Regions from separate parts of the Homo sapiens genome. Here region 1 is linked to region 2. The links are contacts of gene promoters, found by promoter capture Hi-C in blood cells and fetal thymus (Javierre and others, 2016). All regions are on one chromosome and are shown on one strand. The core of a region is centred on a gene start or on the middle of the fragment in contact, and the rest is flanking DNA. Distances in the headings are between cores, read along the strand shown. Region 1 holds the start of KRTAP10-4 (keratin associated protein 10-4). Region 2 holds the start of KRTAP12-1 (keratin associated protein 12-1).

What was found. Contacts are between HindIII fragments. The CHiCAGO score rates a contact against its expected background, and 5 or more counts as called.
Region 1: a contact is called between the fragment with the promoter of KRTAP10-4 here and the fragment with the promoter of KRTAP12-1 in region 2, in 1 of 17 cell types (naive CD8 T cells). The highest score is 5.2, in naive CD8 T cells.

Annotation. Positions count from the first base shown.
Region 1 is chr21:44,570,389-44,575,050 of GRCh38, reverse strand. It overlaps KRTAP10-4 (keratin associated protein 10-4), which reads right to left and starts at 1,322. Exons shown (of 1, transcript NM_198687.2): 1 at 1-1,322. The coding sequence starts at 1,292. The coding sequence ends at 87. The region is part of intron 1 of TSPEAR (thrombospondin type laminin G domain and EAR repeats); the gene reads left to right. RefSeq lists enhancers at 71-589, 590-1,107. The HindIII fragment of the contact is 4,220 bases long and covers 1-1,838 here.
Region 2 is chr21:44,679,475-44,683,586 of GRCh38, reverse strand. It overlaps KRTAP12-1 (keratin associated protein 12-1), which reads left to right and starts at 1,424. Exons shown (of 1, transcript NM_181686.2): 1 at 1,424-2,011. The coding sequence starts at 1,464. The coding sequence ends at 1,754. All of the region lies in intron 1 of TSPEAR (thrombospondin type laminin G domain and EAR repeats), which reads left to right. The HindIII fragment of the contact is 12,382 bases long and covers 1-4,112 here.

The DNA.
Region 1 (4,662 bases), core at 73-2,572, 110 kb after region 2:
GCTGGCACTGGGGGGCGTGTCCATCAGCAGCTGGGCTTCTGACCTGAGCGGAGGCCTCAGCAGGCTGGGCGGGAGCACACGGGGCGTCAGAGGAGGGACACGCAGGAGGCTGGGCGGCAGCAGCTGGGTTGGCAGGAGGAGGTGGGAGCACAGCAGGAAGGGACGGGCACGCAGCAGGCGGGCCTGCACACGGGGCGGCAGAGGAGGGACACGGAGGAGGAGGGTCTGCAGCAGGAGGTGGTGCAGCAAGCTGGCTGGCAGCTAGATTGCTGGCAGCATGAAGAGGAAGCCCCAGAGCAAACAGGCACACAGCTCACAGGCTTGCAGCAGACGGGCACGCAGCAGCCCTGCTGGCTTTGGGAGGAGGTGCAGCAAGCTGGCTGGCAGCTAGACTGCTGGCAGCACAGAGAGGAAGCCCCAGAGCAGATGGGCACAGAGCAGACAGGCTTGCAGCACACAGGCTTGCAGCAGACAGGCACACAGCAAGCCTGCTGGCAGGGAGAGGAGGTGCAGCAAGCCGGCTGGCAGCTAGACTGCTGGCAGCATGAAGAGGAATCCTCAGAGCACACAGGCTTGCAGCAGACAGTCTTGCAGCAGACGGGCACGCAGCAGGCCTGCTGGCAGGAGGAGGAGGTGCAGCAAGCCGGCTGGCAGCTAGACTGCTGGCAGCACGAGGGCGTGCAGGAGCTGATGCAGCCTGATTGGCAGGGGCTGGGCTCACAGACCGCCTGGCAGCAGGGGCTGGACACACAGCTCACACAGCTAGACTGCTGGCAGCACGAAGAGGAAATCCCAGAGCAGACAGGCTTGCAGCAGATGGGCACACAGCAGGCCTGCTGGCAGGGGGAGGAGGTGCAGCAAGCTGACTGGCAGCTAGACTGCTGGCAGCATGAAGAATCCCCACAGCAGACGGGCACACAGCACACAGGCTTGCAGCAGACAGTCTTGCAGCAGACGGGCACGCAGCAGGCCTGCTGGCAGGGGGAGGAGGCACAGCAAGCCAGCTGGCAGCTAGACTGCTGGCAGCACGAGGGCGTGCAGGAGCTGGTGCAGCCTGATTGGCAGGGGCTGGGCTCACAGGTCACTGGGCAGCAGGGGCTGGACACACGGCTCACTGGGGTGCAGACCAGGCTCAGGCAGGGGGCCGGGGCGCAGCAGCTGGGGGCGCAGCAGGGGGGCTCGCAGCAGCTCTCTGGGCAGTCGTCCACCTGCCAGGAGTCGGAGCAAGAGTCACAGGAACCAGGAAGGCAGACGCGGCTGCTGTAGCTCAGGTCGCTGGAGCAGACGGACATGGTGGATGCTGCTGTGCTGGGGGTTGAGCTGGGGGAGATGGGAGGGAGTGGGTGAGCGAGTGAGTGAGGTGCTCGGGTTTGTGGGGCTTTTATACTCCTCCTTGGTGCATGTTGTCCAGACAGGAGGCTCAGCAAGCCCTCCCTTCCTTGTTGGGGTGTACAGCCAGCTCCAGGAGAATAAACAGTAGCTGTGTTTTTGTTTCCCAAGAGCTGTTGCTCAGTTTACAAAACTTGGAATTGGCCTGGGGCGCATGTGCGTGTTTTAGACTCAGGAGGAAGAGCTGAGGGGCAGTTCAGGCTGTGCTGCTTTGCTCCCCAGGCGCACGTGGAGGGTGGCATGGTCCACGTGTGTGCCGGGCTATGGGGAGTGGGTGCCTGCGGGTGGCTCTGCCGTGTGTGTGCTGGACTATGAGGAGTGGGTGCCTGTGGGTGGCTCTGCCGTGTGTGTGTGCCAGGCTATGGGGAGTGGGTGCCTACGGGTGGCTCCGCTGGGCCTTGGTTTTCTAGGCTGCTGAACAAGATCATGTGCCTCTGTGATTGAAAGCTTAGGGAGAGAGGTTTGTTTGGGTTCTAAGTAAAGATAATGTGAGTCATGGTTTGTATGCTGTAATGTATTCTTTTCCTTGGGCTGCCATGACAAACAGTACCACAAACTGGCTGGTCACACAACAGAAATTCCGTGTCTCATGGTTTTGGAAGCCAGAAGTCTGAGATCGAGGTGTGGACAGTGGACAGCATGGGTTCCTTCTGAGGCTGCGAGGGGCACTGTCTCACCCCGCTCCCCTCACTCCTGTGGGCTGCTGCTATCTTTGGGGTCCTTGGCTTACAGTGGCCTCACCTGAGCTCTGCCTTTATCTTCACACAGCTTCTCCGTGTGTGTGTGTGTGTGTGTGTGTGTGTGTGTGTGTGTGTGTGTGTGTGTGTCCAAATCTCCCCTTTTTATAAGGATACAAAGCATTATTGCAGTAGGGCCTATCCTAACAGCCTCCTCTTAACTTGATCACCTACAAAGACCCTATTTCCATATAGGGTCACATTCACATGTACCAGCGGTCAGGACTTCGGCACCTTTTGAGGGACACAATTCAATCCACAGCAAGCAGACACAATGGCAGAACCTGGGATGAGGACGTGGGCACGGGAGCAGAACCCGGGATGGGAAGGCAAGCACGGCAGAAGTGTTTCTTGTGGACTTGGGCCTGGGGCAGGTGGAGCATGGGGGGTGGCGAGGGTAGCACAGGACAGCAGGTGCCCAGCACTGGGCACTCAGCAGCCTTTGCTTGTGAGGTGTGGCTTGACCTCGTGGAATGGTTTTAGGGAATAGTGGCTGAAAAGCGGGGTTCACATCGCCCTTTGCCAGCTTCCCGACACCACCGCAGGTTGGTTCCCAGCTCTGAGAAAGCAGCGCTGCTCTGTTTCTTCTCAGCCAGGACGGTCTTTAGGCAGCTGCACCAACTTCCGGTGGGTCCTGCTCAGGACCCCACATGGCGTTGGCTGAAAGGTCTCCTCGACTTCTCTGGTTTGTGACGGTTGCCCAATCTCTCCTTGGCCTCAGCGACCTTGACCGGTTGGGTGTTTTGTAGAATGCCCCTCCACGTGGACTTGCTTGAGGTTTCCTCGTGGTCAGAGTGGGCATCGCGTTGGGGGAGGAATCCCACAGGAGCAGTGTGCGTGGGGCATGGAGGTGACACGGCCGCGGCCCATCCCTCGCGGTGCCGCCGTTTCCCTCTGTAATTGGTCATGTCTGAGACTTGGCAGCTGTCCTGCGTCTGCCCAGGCGTTTGCCCGGCAGTGCTGGTGCCCCTCCGGGGGCCTCGCCCGCACGGTCCCTGTGGGGCTCTGTTGAGGATTCTCCTCCCTGCCTTGTTCCTTCCACACTTACTAATTGAAATTCTCCCGGGAGGAGGAGCTGTCCCGCTCTTCTGTGTGTCTATTTGCTTCCTTATTTATTTATCTATGTGTGGACTAAAGAATGTTTATCTATTACTTGAGCTATAATCCAATATGATCACTATGTATTTTGTGGTTGCAGTGGTTCCAACTTCGGCCCTCAAGTCCTTTCGTTTTGGCCCTGGTGCCCTTTCAACACGCTGTCCCTCCCTGACCTTTCTTACTTTTGGGTCCAAGTTCATCTCAGATTTGCCCTGTTTCATCCCTGGAATCAGACGCTTCTCTAGGAAGCCCTGCTTCCTCTTGGTGGACGAAGGCATTTAGAAACCAAAATCTGGAGCAAGGTGTGCTCACACTACTGGGGTGTTGCTTTCCCAGCCCTCCCAGGAGACAGAGCAAGGAGGCTGGCATGTGCATTAACACCCACCTGATCTTAGAGGGAGGGGTTTCCCCACTAAGAATCGTGTTGGTGCTGGTTTTTCCAGACTAGTGTTATCTGGTCTGAAATGTTCCCCTCTAGGCTGGATGTGGTGGCTCATGCCTGTAATTCCAGCACTTTGGGAGGCCAAGGCAGGAGGATTATTTAAGGCCAGGAGTTTGAGATCAGCCTGGGCAACATAGCCAGACCCCATCTCTACAACGTATTGTCCTTTTTACATGTTGCTGGATTGTATTTGCTAATATTTTATTGAGGATTTTGGTTGGTCTGTAGTTTTCTCTTATTGCAATGCCTTTGCCTGGTTTGGTAACACTGCCTTCATGAAAAGAGTTGGTGTTTTCTCCTATTCTATCTTCTGAAAGAGATGATGTAGAATTGACATTTTTTCTTCTTTAAAGGGTTGGTAGTATTTTCCAGGAAACTGTAGTTTTTCTGTGTTGGAAGGTGTCCTTTATTAGATATTGGACCTCCCAATTATCTTTTCTTCTTTAATAAGTTCTGGTATTTGCGCCTATCAAGGAATTGGTCCACATTATCTGAGGTTTTGATAAACAACACGTGGTGTTGTTTATGGAGTTCCCTTATCAGCCTTTTAATTTCTGACAATTGTTTAGCAATATCCCCTTTTGTTCTCCATATTGTTTATCAATTTGATGGATCTCAAAGAACCAGCTTGGGTTTAATCAGTTTCCTCTATTTTCCTTTTGTTTTCAATTGCGTGGACTCCTGCCCCATCCTTCCCTTTGCTTGCTGTGGGTTCCATTTCCTCATCTTTCTCTAGTTTCTCAAGGCAAAGCTCCTATGTTGGATTCAATACCTTTCTTCTTTTCAAAGCAGCGCCCGGTTCCCTCCTTCTCCATCCTCAGTGGCTATACCTGGCCTGTGCCTGAGGCTGTGAACGAGCTTATCTCTGCAGCCCCTTCTGTAATTCCATAATTCCTGGCTTCTGGACCCATGTCTCACCGATGATAGAGTCAAGGAGGATGCCCCACAAGGTGGCTGTGAGGGCAGGTCAACATCCAGAGGCCCCCACCCAGCACT
Region 2 (4,112 bases), core at 175-2,674:
ATAGACCCTCCTGCCTCAACCTACCGTGTAGCTGGGACCACAAGCATGCACCACCATGTCTGGCTAATTTTTAACCATTTTTTTGTAGAGACAGAGTCTCACTATGTTGCCCAGGCTGGTCTGAAACTCCTAGCCTCAAGCAATCTTCCCATCTTGGTCTCCCAAAGTGCTGGGATTACAGGCATAAACAACCGTGCCTGGTCAATATCTGATGATTTTGATTGTGTATGAGGTATCATAATAATGCATTTACAGACTCTGAGCTGTATCATGTTTCTGATTTTTGTTCTAGCCGTCAGTTACTGGAGAATGACCTTAATCTTGTGCAGTTTTTGTTCAACACTTTGCTAGGGTGGATCTCTGGGAAGCATCTACAACTTGGAACACTCTGTATCTTGGTGGGACTCACATTCCAAACTGTCTTCCCTAAAAATCCTATTCTGAATTGGTTTAGGCTTTGTTCGGGCTGGCCTAGGCGGGTCTCACTGTAGTCTGTGGTCCTTACTCATTTGGTGCCGGGCTGTAGGGGGTCTCGGCTGGATGTCGACGTGGGGACTGGAGGGGGGCTTCACTCTCAATCCTCTAGCAGCTTCTCTCTGGTGAGCCTGTGGTTGCCTTGCCCTGGGAATGCACAGCCCTGCCCCGTTCCACAGATTCACAGTCAGCTTCCACAGTGTGGGGCCTGCTCTCCACACGGATCCTTCTTTCCGCTTCTCTGCTCCTCGGACTCCAGGGCTTCAGCTGCTTGAGCGCTGGCCCCTTCCTCCTCGGCAGAGTTGGGTCACTGTATTCTGCTCTGACTCCGGCTGGTGACACTGCATTTTGGAAGGTGACACTGCATTTTGGAAGCCTGCCCCAGCAGAGAGCTGGGAAATGGGAGTTTATCTCCTAAGTTTCTTCTCTCTCAGGAAGCACAGTCTGCACTGCTGGTTGACGGCTGCCTGAAAACGAGCATCTCCTAAATCTCAACTGTATAGTTGATAGAGTAGCCAGCTTTGCATCACTCACTCCAGCAGGTTCCCCAGTATGATTTCATTGTCTATATTCAGTTCTGGTCTCTTCCCCAAAGTTTCTGGTTGATGCAACAGAAGTTGCGGTTCGAGGAGCTCTTTTGGGTACCACTCATGTCTGCTTCAGCGTAGAACTAACGAAGGGAGGCAGATATCAGGCAGGTGGAGCTAAAACTGCCTGTGCATCACTGATAAATTTGGGCAGGTTTCCAAATGTAACAAGAGCTTGAAGAGGGTGCAATTAGTCACGAAACAAAGGGCCAGATAAAAAACATCATCTACGACAGAAAACTGAGTTCCAGGAAACAGCCTTGAGGAAGAAAAACAAGGAAGACAACAGGTGTGTGCTTCTGTGCTGTGGGGATGCCTGGGTCCAGGTATAAAGGCTACCCAGGGAGGCCATCCCCAGACATCACTGCCCTCTGCCTCGACCTTATCCAGCCACACGCCACCATGTGCCACACCAGCTGCTCCTCGGGCTGCCAGCCAGCCTGCTGCGCGCCCAGCCCCTGCCAGGCATCCTGTTACATCCCCGTGGGCTGCCAGTCCTCCGTGTGCGTGCCCGTGAGCTTCAAGCCAGCCGTGTGTGTGCCCGTGAGATGCCAGTCCTCTGTGTGCGTGCCCGTGAGCTGCAGGCCCGTCGTGTATGCGGCTCCCTCCTGCCAGTCCTCTGGGTGCTGCCAGCCTTCCTGCACCAGCGTCCTCTGCAGACCCATCTCCTGCAGCACCCCTTCCTGCTGCTGAGCATGAATCTCCAGACCCGCTGCTCCCAGTGCAGATGAGGCCACACCTGTACACTCCCTGGATGAGTCCTCAGTTGGTCTTCTGCACATGGTGCAGGTGAAAAGCATGCTCAGTGAACCCTCTGAATTCTGGATCGAGAATATAATAGAATGATCTGGAGCCCTGGCTGAACTTGCCTATCCCCCCAGGGAAGTCTGGGGTCCCAGAGTCATTCTCTGACCCCATGAGAGTCAAATAAACCAGCTTTCCCCATGCAACTCTGCGTTTCTTGTCTCTCTTTTTTATTTCTATACTCCCCGCTATCTATTCTGCTGATTACATAGAATTTGCTGCTAAACCCTCTTCAGTGATCCCTTCACCCAGTGCTCATCAGAAGGTGGTGTCCCGGGTGGAGGGCGCGGCTGCAGATGCCCATGTGGTCTCTCCCAGGGCTCCTGGGGCCCAGCTGCAGTGGCCACAGCGGTGACTTACCCGCCTGTGGTGGAGTGGCCTCGCTTCCCCACTGGCTGTCCACTCCTGCTCCAGGCCAGCAAGCCCTGCATTGATGGCCAAAGCCTCAGAGCACTGAGGATCGGGCTTTCCCATGTGGTTGGTGGATGTCCTGCTTCCCGGGTCGCGGAGGATCTCAGGTTTACAGAACTGGATTAGTTCTGCAGCACACACTCCCATCACTGATCTACATATGGCACTTTTTAAAAATTGATACATAATATGTTTACATATTTATGGGGCATATGAAATACTTTACACACAGAGGATACGTAATGATGAAATCAGGATATTCATCACCTTGTCTATCATTTCTCTGTGTTGAGGACATTTTACACTCTCTCTTCTAGCTGATTTGAGACATACAATACATTGTTAACTGTAGTCACCCTATGCTGCTATCAAATATTAGAACTTATTCTTTCTGTGTAACTGTATGTTTGTACCCATTAACCAAACTCACTTCTCCTCTAACACACACCGTTCTTCACCTCTGGTAATATCATTCTACTCTCTACTTCCATGAGATCAACTTTGTGAACTCCCACATGTGAGTGAGAACATGTAATATTTGTCTTTAATGACCTTCGGTTCCATCCATGTTGCTGCAAATGGCAGGACTTCATTCTTTTTTATGGCCGAATAAGATTCCATTGTAAATATATACCACAGTTTCTTGATTCATTTATTTATTGATAGACATTTAGGTTGAATCTGTATCTTGGCTATTGTGAATAGTGCTGCAATAAACATGGGGGTGCAGGTATCTTTTTGATACACCAATTCCCTATCCTTTGAATAAATAGTAGCAGGATTGCTGGATAGTATGGTAGTTTTATTTTAGTTTTCTGAGAAATCTGTATACCGTTTTTGATAATGGCTGTACTAATTTACACTTCCACAAATGATGTATAAGAGTTCCCTTTTCTCCACATCTTTACCAGCATCTGTTATTTTTTGTCTTTTTGATAATAGCCATTCTAATTGGGGTAAGATGATGCTATCTCATTGTAGTTTTGATCTGAAGTTCCCTGATGATTAGTGATGTTGAGTTTTTTTTAATATACCTGTTGGCCATTTGTATGTCTTCTTTTGAGAGATGCCTATTCAGGTGCTTTGCCCATTTATTAATGGAATTATTTGTTTTGTTGTTGTTGTTGAGTTGTTTGAGTTCCTTACATATTCTGGATATTAGTCACTTGTCAGATGCATAGTTTACAAATATTTTCTCCCATTACACAGGTTGTCTCTTCACTCTGTTGATTGTTCCGTTTGCTGTGCAGAGCTTTTCAGTTTAATATAATCTCATTTGTCTATTTTGGTTTTTGTTGCCTGTGTTTTTGTAGTCTTAGCCATAAACTGTTTGCCTAGACCAATGTCCTGGAGCATTTCATTTATGTTTTCTTCTAGTAGCTTTATGGTTTTCGGTCTTATGTTTAAGGCTTTGATACATCTTGAGTTGATTTCTGTATATGATGAGAGGTAGGGATCCAGTTTCATTCTTCTGCATGTGGCTATCCAGTTTTCCCAGCACCATTTATTGAAGGGGTGTCCTTTCTCTATTGTATGTTCTTGGCACCTTTGTTGAAAATCAATTGGCTGTAAATATATGGATTTATTTCTGGGTTCTCTATTCTGTTCCATTGATCTATGTGTCTGGTTTTATACCAATACTATGCTGTTTAGCCTTGTAATATATTTTGAAGTCAAGCGGTGTGATACCTACAGGTTTGTTCTTTTTGTTCAGGATAACTTTGGCTATTCAGGGTCCTTTTTGGTTCCATATGAATTTTAGGACTGTTTTTTCTACTTCTGTGAAACATGTCATTGGCATTTTGATAGAGATTGCATTGAGTCTGTTGATTGCTT